Linked DNA regions of Homo sapiens: region 2 is linked to region 1. Evidence: promoter capture Hi-C in 16 types of primary human blood cells and fetal thymus (Javierre and others, 2016). All regions are on one chromosome and are shown on one strand. The core of a region is centred on a gene start or on the middle of the fragment in contact, and the rest is flanking DNA. Distances in the headings are between cores, read along the strand shown. Region 1 holds the start of MYL2 (myosin light chain 2). Region 2 overlaps CUX2 (cut like homeobox 2).

Evidence for each region. The method cuts DNA at HindIII sites, captures the fragments that hold promoters and counts their contacts. A CHiCAGO score of 5 or more calls a contact.
Region 2: a contact is called between a fragment that was not itself captured here and the fragment with the promoter of MYL2 in region 1, in 1 of 17 cell types (megakaryocytes). The highest score is 5.2, in megakaryocytes.

What each region holds. Positions count from the first base shown.
Region 1 is chr12:110,919,329-110,924,145 of GRCh38, forward strand. MYL2 (myosin light chain 2) reads right to left here and starts at 1,251. Exons shown (of 7, transcript NM_000432.4): 1 at 1,199-1,251. The coding sequence starts at 1,201. RefSeq lists an enhancer at 1-2,059. The HindIII fragment of the contact is 13,220 bases long and covers 1-4,817 here.
Region 2 is chr12:111,206,962-111,211,514 of GRCh38, forward strand. All of the region lies in intron 1 of CUX2 (cut like homeobox 2), which reads left to right. Among named protein-coding and RNA genes, the nearest start is that of MIR6760, 95 kb to the right of the region's middle. The HindIII fragment of the contact is 1,833 bases long and covers 377-2,209 here.

The sequences.
Region 1 (4,817 bases), core at 1-2,500:
ACTCAGGTCTCCAAACGGTGATGCTGGAGGGAGCAAAGGACATGACATGAAGTTTCTCCAGAGCCCTCTGGTACCAGTGGATCATAAGCGTTTGTGCATCTTGCAGTGGCTCCTTCACCAACTAGGAGAAGCCACAGGTGTGTCCCTGGGGATGGAGGCCACACCTTCAGATCGCCCCTGCAGGATCCAGCCACTTTTGTTCTGATGCATTTCACAAAAAGCTCAGTAATGCACAGAAGGAGAATTGATTGGAGGGAAAGAAAAAGTCAGGCTCACTAAGCCATGATGAATGCCAAGATGAAATGACAGTTCTTCAAGGTGTTAAAACCCAACTGCGCCCCACACCCCACAATTTTCCCTTGCTCCAAATGGCAGCAAAACCTCCTCTCTGAATGCTCCGTCCTTGCACCACATCAATAGGGCAGAGAAGAGCGAGTTGACCTTTCTTCCCCACCCCACTTCTCTCTGACTTTCAATAACAGCAAATGATTCGGTACTCTACATATGTATTATTTAATTCTCATAACCACTCTGTCAAGTGGATACTATTATTATCATCCCCATTTTACAGGAGAGGCAACTGAGGCTCAGAGAGGTTGGGTCACTTGCCCAAGATCACACAGCCACACACACAGAAGGCAGAGCCGGAGTTGAACTTGGGCGTTGAACTTGGGGAGTTGAACTTGGGCATTCTGACTCCAGAGTTCCTGCCTCTAACCACTCTCCCTCCTGTGCTGACCCTGATTTGGGGACTGCCCACTTCAGGAGGGGGACACCTAACCCAACAGCACAGAAAGAAAGGTTTTAAATTTGCAAGTTCAAAAGGTGAAAACAAAAACATTCTTTTTCCCAGCTGCCTGAACAAGAGAAAAGAATTACAATTTGATCCTTAAAAGCATTCAATCCCATTTTGCAAGTCCTGGGAGTTATTGATTCCTCGAGAGGTCAGTAGACAAGCCATAAAAAAGCCAACTCTCTTATTTTGTGTTTGTGAGTCCCCGAGAGCTGCTGTTATTTGTGGCCTATCGGGGCATTGATTGGGGTTCCTCTGTGCCCGCGCAGTCAATGGGGCTTTTTCCACAAGGGGCTGGAGGCTTTGAGGGCCGCCTTCCTCCCCCTCCGCCGTGGTCCCTCGCTTGTAGTGGCTTCCTCTCCTCGCCCACCCGGCATCATCACCTCCTGGAGCCCTTGTACTCACCATGGTGGAAAGGACCCAGCACTGCCTCCCGAGAAGAATTCCACACTCCGCCCAGCTCTCTGCAGCCCAGGAACAATAAATACTTCCTCCCCATGTTTAAAAATAACCCCATGACCGCTTTTGGCAGTCATAGGTGAGGCGGGCACCACCTAAGGCCCCCCCACCCCATGCCGTTCTTCTGAAGTAAGGGTGGCTCACTCGCCACTGGGTGACACGTGAGCCCCCAAAAAGGCATTCAAGGTTAAAGAGGCAGTAGCTGGGTCATGGTCACGGGGAGAGATGCTGCGCGCTCTCTGCGGTGCTTGGGCCGGGGACACTTGTGCTTGTCAATTTTGAGAAAAAAAATGGCAGGGAGAGGAGACTGCTAAAATGCTCTGTTTTATCAGCCTGGATCTGGCCTCAGGGTCTTTGCACCTGTGTGCCCTCTACCTGGAATGTCTTTCTGTCAGTCATCGCACGGCTCCTTCCTTCACCTCCTTCACTGCATCTTTGCTCATATGTCATCTCCTGAGTGAAGCCTCCCCGACCACCATCTTTAAAATAACCATGAAGGCTGGCACTGTGGCTCATGCCTGAAATCCCAGCACGGCGGGAGGCCGAGGCGGGAAGATTGCTTGAGCCTAGGAGTTTGCGACCAGCCTGGGTGACATAGGGAGATGCCTGTCTCTACGCAAAAGAAAAAAAAATAGCTGTGCGTGGTGGTGCATGCCTATAGTCTCAGCTATTCAGGAGGCTGGGACAGGAGGATCACTTGGGCCCGGGAGGTTGAGGCTGTGGTGAGCCACGATCACACCACTGCACTCCAGCCTGGGTGACAGAGCAAGACCCTGTCTCAAAACAAACAAATAACACAGCCACGCACCTCCTGCGCTCCGATCTCCCTTCTTTGTTTCTCTGCACAGCGTGAGGCAGTCCCGAACACTGCCCACAGTGCACTGACTCATTTTCTTCAGCATCTGTGGAGCGTCAGCTCAGAGGGCAGGGATCACTTTAGTTTCCCTCACCACTGACTGTCTCCCCAGCTCCCAGCTCATGATGCACACAGCAGCAGCTCAAAAATAAATATTTGTTGACTGAAGAAATGACAAATCTCATTGACTGAGCACTGGCACGTGCCGGACACTATGTGCTCATGGCTCCCACACATAATTTTCCAGCCACCCTAGAGGGTGGGGACCACCTCATCATCCATGCCCCCATTTTACAGATGCGGAAACAAAAGCTCAGAGAGGCGAAGTGAGCTGCCCAGGGTCACACAGTGATGGAGCTAGGCGTGGACCCCTCTGGAGGCCCCTTTGTCTCCAGAGTCCAGGCTCTTTAAGAGCCTTGAAAACAGCAGCTGCTCTCAGAATGCAAGGTGTCATTATATAATACTTTTACTGAAGACAGCTTTCCTGCTGGGTGCAGTGGCTTATACCTGAAATGCCAGCACTTTGAGAGGCTGAGGCGGGTGGATCACTTGAGTCAGGAGTTCAAGACGACCTTGGCCAACATGATGAAACTTGTCGCTACTAAAAATACAAAAATTAGCCAGGCGTTGTGGCGCGGGCCTGTAGTCCCAGCTACTCAGGAGACTGAGGCAGGAGAATCGCTTGAGGCCGAGAGGCAGAGGTTGCAGTGAGCCGAGATAGCGCCATTGCACTCCAGCCTGGGCGACAGAGTGAGACTCTGACTCAAAAAAAAAAAAAAAAAAAAAAAGGACGGGCATGTTGGCTCACACCTAGCACTTTGGGAGGCCGAGGCGGGTAGATCACCTGAGGTCAGGAGTTCAAGACCAGTCTGGCCAACATGACAGAACCCCATCTCTACTAAAAATACAAAAATTAGCTGGGCGTTGTGGCACATGCCTGTACTCCCAGCTACTTGGGAGGCTAAGGCAGGAGGATTGCTTGAACCCAGGAGGCGGAGGTTGCAGTGAGCCGAGATCGTGCCATTGCACTCCAGCCTGGGCGACAGAGCAAGACTCCATCTCAAAAACAAAGACCAAAAAAACCCCAAACTAAACCAAAACAACAAAAGATGGCCATCTTCCTGTGCCCTTAAAGACAGCCTTGGGATTCAGGGAGCAAGAACTCGGGGCTTGGAATCATTGTGGTTATTTAGTGTCCGTGGGTGGCAGGCCTGAGTGCCAGAGGCCACACCTCTAAGAAGGAGAATGTCCCTCTGCCCTCCCAGTAGTGTGGGTGCGGGGCTGATGGCTGAACCAGCATTCATTCCCCTTCATCGAGCCCAGCGCAAAGCAACAAATTCCCTTCCCTTGAGGTGCGTAAGTGCGAGGGGAAGATGGACAAGGAGAAAGTAAACAAATGCACAACCCAGACAGTTGCAGGCAGTGACGGATCTCATGCAGGGATGAGACAGAGGCATGGCAGTGGCCAGGTGACAGCCTCAGACAGGGGCGCAGGTGGGCTCCTCCAAGCAGAGTCTGCAAAGGGGGCTCCAGGCAGTGGGGACAGCACATACCTCAAGGCAGGGAGAATTTGGAGGCTTTGAGGAACAGAAGGCCCCCTGGGGCTGGAGTTTTCCAGAGCTTAAAAAAAGAAATCACTTTTCTTATTAGGTTTTCCAGAGGGTAAAAGGAGGTGAGACCTGGCAAATGGTAGCTATCACTCACTCCCCTTCTCAGGTGGAAAAATAATCTCAATTTGGGGGCACACAAACCCAAGGACCATTGATGGCTGTGACAAAAAAAGGTGTGGGTTTTTTTCTTCTCTGCAGTCCCACATGGGTTAGAGTTACCCAGGACACTCTTCTGACAGATCTTTAATAACAAAAGATGTGTTCATGTGTGTGTGTAGGCACATGCATGCACAGACAAAAACACGTCTGCACATGCATAGAGGCACACAGACACGTGCATGTACACGCATCCACATATGTGCAGTGCACACATCAAGAGGAGCTTTTCTGTCCAAGGTTCTCTGACAACACCAGAATAAATGTTTCCCTAGCTAATAGGCACACCATAGATTTTCGTTAAAACCCTGTGTGAGCAGTCAGTAGCTCCAACTGGCCAAGTGAAAAGGTTGTTGCAGCCACAGAAGATGTGGAGAGTGTATGATGGGGGGTGGGAAGCCCCGGGGTGGGGATTAGGATGGGCTGGGCCCCCAGAGTCGAGTGGGGGTGTGTGTCCCTGAGGGACACCTGTACAGCCAGGCCTCCAGAAGGGGTACTAGAGGAACCATTCTGGCTGGATAGCAAGAGGGGTTGTCAAATAGGGCACTCACCCTCTCGGGCCTGTTTCCTCACCTGGAAAAGGGAGATCACACACCTCCATAAGGCTGCTGGGAGGATTAAGTGAGATTGTGTCTAGGGATTCTGGGAAATGGCGGCCTGAATGGGGCATGGAACCACGTGGCTGCTGGGACGTGGAGCACGTGGGGTGTGGACTAGGCCTTGGGGTCTGTTGAGAGAGCCAGAGATCCAAAGTCTCTCTCATCAATGGGTTGTGTTGCCCCAGGGAGCCCCCAAGACCAGGGACAAGGCCCTGGGATTGGAGAATCCAGGGAGGACTTGGTTCTTTGTAGACTTCAGGGGTTCCTTTCAGCATCAGCCTCAAGACTGCGGGGGCTGGGGAGGGAGCGAGTGGGCGGCTGGGGCTGTTGTGCCCTGCCCTCAA
Region 2 (4,553 bases), core at 43-2,542, 290 kb after region 1:
GATGGTGGTTGGATGGGTGGATGTATGTCTGGATGAATGGATAAATGGATGATTAGTTGGGTAGATAGATGTATGATTAGATGAATGGATAAATGGATGGTGGTTGGGTAGTTGGACGGATGTTGGATAAAGGGCTTCCAGCCTGGTTAGCACTTCAGTGGTTACTGGCAGCCCCTGCCCAACTTGGGACCACACTATGATTTAATTAGAAGAGGTAGATTGAAGCTCTACCTCTCCTTTGCCTGATCAGTTTCCATACCCACCCAAAGGCAATACAAAAGACATGTTAGGGTTTCACTCTTCTCCAAGCCTGCACTAAAGATAATGTCTCTGCATGATGGCCTTTGTCACCTTTCACTAAAATTACTTATACCCAAGCTTGTCTGGTTTCTGAGCTCTTGGAGGATCCAGGCTATATCGGGCTTATCATTTCCATCCTCCTTATGAAATGCCTAGCACATCAGAGACCATGAATGCATTGATGGACGAGTGGATGGGTAGATGAGTGGGTGGACAGATGAGGTCCAACATCTTCGGTTGCATCCCCCTGTAGTAAGGTGAAAGCAGAGCCCCTGTTTGGATTTGGGGGGTTGGTGACTGTACTGGAAGTCATAATCACTGCTCATCTTTGTTTCTGAAACCTGGCCTGGAATCTCGACCATCACTTCACATACATATCCTTACAAGAGATACTGTACATAAAGTGCTTAGTGCACTCAATAAATATTAGTATATATGGTGTAATAGACTCTCAATAAATGTTAACTATGAGCTATTGTTTCCTATAAGGAACTTCTGTGTAAATGTTCTAGGGCTTAAAAAAAATCTGGTAGCAAATATCAGAAAGAGTTAACAGGGGCTCAAAGCAGACACCTAACTTGGAGGGGTGTCTGGGAAGCCTTTCTGGAAGAGGAGACATTTAAGCTGACACACAAAGAGATGAGTAAGATCAACCACAAAGACAGAATGAGTTCATCTGAGCTGAGGGAAAGGAGACTGTGGAACCACGGAGTCAGAAGGTTCTGGTGCATTTCGGTTTCTGCACGGAATTTGGTCCAGCTGGGAAGGAAACAAGGAGAAGGGGAAGTGGGAGGGACCCAGGGACACCCAGGAGTGAGGAGATTGTCCTAGGCCAGGTTTTAAACCAGGAGGGACATACTGAGAAAGAGATTGTTTGTCTTCATGGAATCTCTTTAAAGCCTAGGAACAACTGAGGTCCTCAATTCCTTAAACCCAGCTCCCAACAATCACTTTTTAGGTTTCTTCTCGGAGGTGGCCTTAGGGGGATATGTCTGAGTGTGAGGTGTCCTTGGAGCTGAGAAGATTGTGGGCACAGATAGGCGGGATCTCAGGTTGTGTCTTAACATGTGTTCCCCTCATAAGAACACAGATTCTAGCCCAAGGCTCTTCATATAGCTGACACTTTGGGATCAGGTGTGAAATTACTTTAAAAACTAAGTGTTCTTGTAAAATTCCCAGTCCCTCCTGGTTGGGGAAACCCAGACGAATTGAGAATGCTAGACTTGCTTCCCCATAGATAACCAACCATAGGATCCTTCCCTAGCCAAGACCCACCCTCCCCTCTGAGAAAATCCAACCTCTTAACTATGTGTGATGTGGGTGGGTAACCAAAAGTATCTGTGCCTCCGTTTTCTCATCTTTAAATGGGAGACTCAGATATGATTCATATTTACTGAAGTGTGGGACACATACCCACTGACGGGACATGAAATTGTAAGCATTCAGTAGAGCCAGTGTTAGAAGGGATTGACTTGGGTTCTGAGGAACAGTTCTGCCTTATCTCTTCCACCCTTCTTCATTCCAACAAGCAGAAAGTCTCTGTAGGGGACTGCATTAACACCCCTCCAGCACTTGCTAACCTTTTATAACAAACACAGGCAGCAATGATTTGTTTTTGGTTATACTTTTGTTTTAATGGCTACCATCTGTTTATGGTACATGATTCTCTAGTGACAAGAAAGTGTCCTTTTTAAATACACTTATTTAGGTTTAAAAAAAGGGAAGGAGTCATTAGGTAAAAGTCAGGAATAGGAAAAATGTGTCTGTGATGCCAGGGTCCAAATCATCGTTACTTTTAGGGGGTACTGACAAGGAGAGAGTACTCTAGGGAGTTTTCACAGGCACTAGGAACGTGAACGTTCTACATCTTGAACTGGGTAGTGCTTACTCAGGTGTAAACCATTCACTAAGCTTTCACTTGAGCCTAGGAGTTCGAGACCAACCTGGGCAACATGGCGAGACCCCCATCTCTACAAAAAATAAAAACTAGCCTGGCGTGGTAGCACATGCCTGTAGTCCCAGCTACCCAGGAGGCTGTGGGAGGGTCACCTGAGCCTGGGAAGTGAAGGCTGCGGTGAGCTGTGATCATGCCATTGCAGTCCAGCCTGGGTGACAGAGCAAGACCCTATCTAAAAAAAAATTTTGTAATTCACTAAGCTTAACATTGAACTATGGAACTTAAAGTGATCCATATCTCAAAAAGAGAACCATAGGAGTCCCTTTGAAGAGAAATATTAATTAATCATATTTTAGATGCTATATCAATATGACAAAATTCACACAGAGGGACATGAGTGGTCAAAGTTTGGACAGCAGTGACCTGAGCGACCTTGAGGATTCCTTCTAGCTCATATGTTCTGAGTGCCTTGGAGGACTAAGTCCCAAGACTGTTCAGCACACCAATGGCAAACCCTCTCAGAGACAGGGGCTCTCACTAGGCAGTGGGCACTTCCAGGGGGTACTGCAGATCCCATCAGAAGAGCCCCTTCCTCCAAGCCCCCGGCTTCTCCTGCAGCACCCGGTCCCGGGTGCAGCTCAGCCCCGGCCTCCTTTCTCTCTGCACATTGGCCCGAGCCTCAGCTGCATCTATCATCTGCTTCAGGCTCATTAAAATTATTTCTTTTTAGTTGCAAATGGGCTGTTTATGATGATCATTATTTGAATGGTCTGCGCCGGGCTCCGGGCTGTCTGTCTGCTGCTGATGGCCAGTTAATCAGATGAGTCTCCTCCCTGCCTGGGCCTGGCCCAAAGTCTGGGGCTGTGTTAATCATGGCTCCCCCAGGGCTGGGGGGCTGGTGGGGCCAGCAGGGGCTGGGTAGGAGAAGATCCTGATTTCTTTTTGATTACCAGAGCTGTGTGTGTGGTAGTTTGGACATGCTTTCTAAAACTCAGTTTTAGACCAGTGCTGGTTTATGTTTGTGACAGAATTTTTTTCCATTCCTTCAAAATAGATATAGTGCCATGAGCTTTTTAATTTTAGCTGTGTGTATTATGAAAGACCCGTGCCGATGCTGTCATTGGCCCTCTTGCTTTGCTGATATTCAAATATCCTTTCTTTTAGGGTGGGAGGGAGTGGTTTTTAATGTCTTTGCTTGATACAGTAACATTTGGCAATACTCTACCGGTCTTCCTTTCATTTTAAAACAGAATTTTTACTGAGCTGTGAAATCCAAAATTCTTGGAATCATTGATCTGGTGGGGTGTTTTCTTAGCTGTCAGTTTATCTAAACATAAGATTAATATCAGCCAAGGCCAGGCACAGTGGCTCACACCTGTAATCCCAACACTTTGGGAGGCCACAGCAGGTGGATTGCTTGAGTCTAGGAGTTTGAGACCAGCCTGGCAACATGGTGAAACCCTGTCTCTACCCCAAAAAAATGCAAAAATTAGCTAGGCATGATGGCACATGCCTATAGTCACAGCTACTAGGGAGGCTGAGGTGGAAGGATCGCCTGAGCCTGGGAGGTCGAGGCTGCAGTGAGCTGTGACTGCACTACTGCACTCCAGCCTAGGTGACAAGAGTGAGACCCTGTCTCAAAAAAAAAAAAAGACAACATTTATTGAACACTTGAAGCTTTACACATCCATATCATTTAAAACAAATGCCCTGAACACCCCCCAGCTGATGGAGACGCAGAGCAGAAGCCCGCTGAAGAGAAGGGCATTAAAAAATATGCCTTTATAATCCACCAAGGAGATAATCCACACCTCAGTTATTAGAATTGACTGTAGTATATTTCCAAGCCCCTGTTTGAATCACCATACAGACAAGACACATTAATGTGTTTGTTCCATGAGATGATGTATGTTAGGAGCTTAGCATAGTGCCTGGTACATGTAAGCTTTCCATAAATGGTAGTTATGAGTATTTACTATTATTATTATTGGTGTTAGTGTGTTTACCAGTGAACTGTGGCAAGAATTCAGGGTTGAAGGACAAGCATAGATTTAGGCAAAATTGAGAAGAACGTGGATGTCAGTGACTTCGTCTGCTCGAGGAAAGACACCAAGGGCTGGGCTTGCAGTGGGGTCAGGGTGAGGGGACTGGTGATATCCCCCTGCCTTCCCTGGCTCTGTTCTCTCTGCAGTGTGGACACAGCAGACATCCTGCCTGTCAGATTTGCACCCACCAGCAGCCTGGGAGGTGCAGGTGGAGGGAGTCAGGCATAATTGTCTGTGAGGACACATCAGGTGGTTGGACTTATCCTGCTCTGCAATTTCCTTTCAGAACCTGGGCTGGATGTTTTTAATGA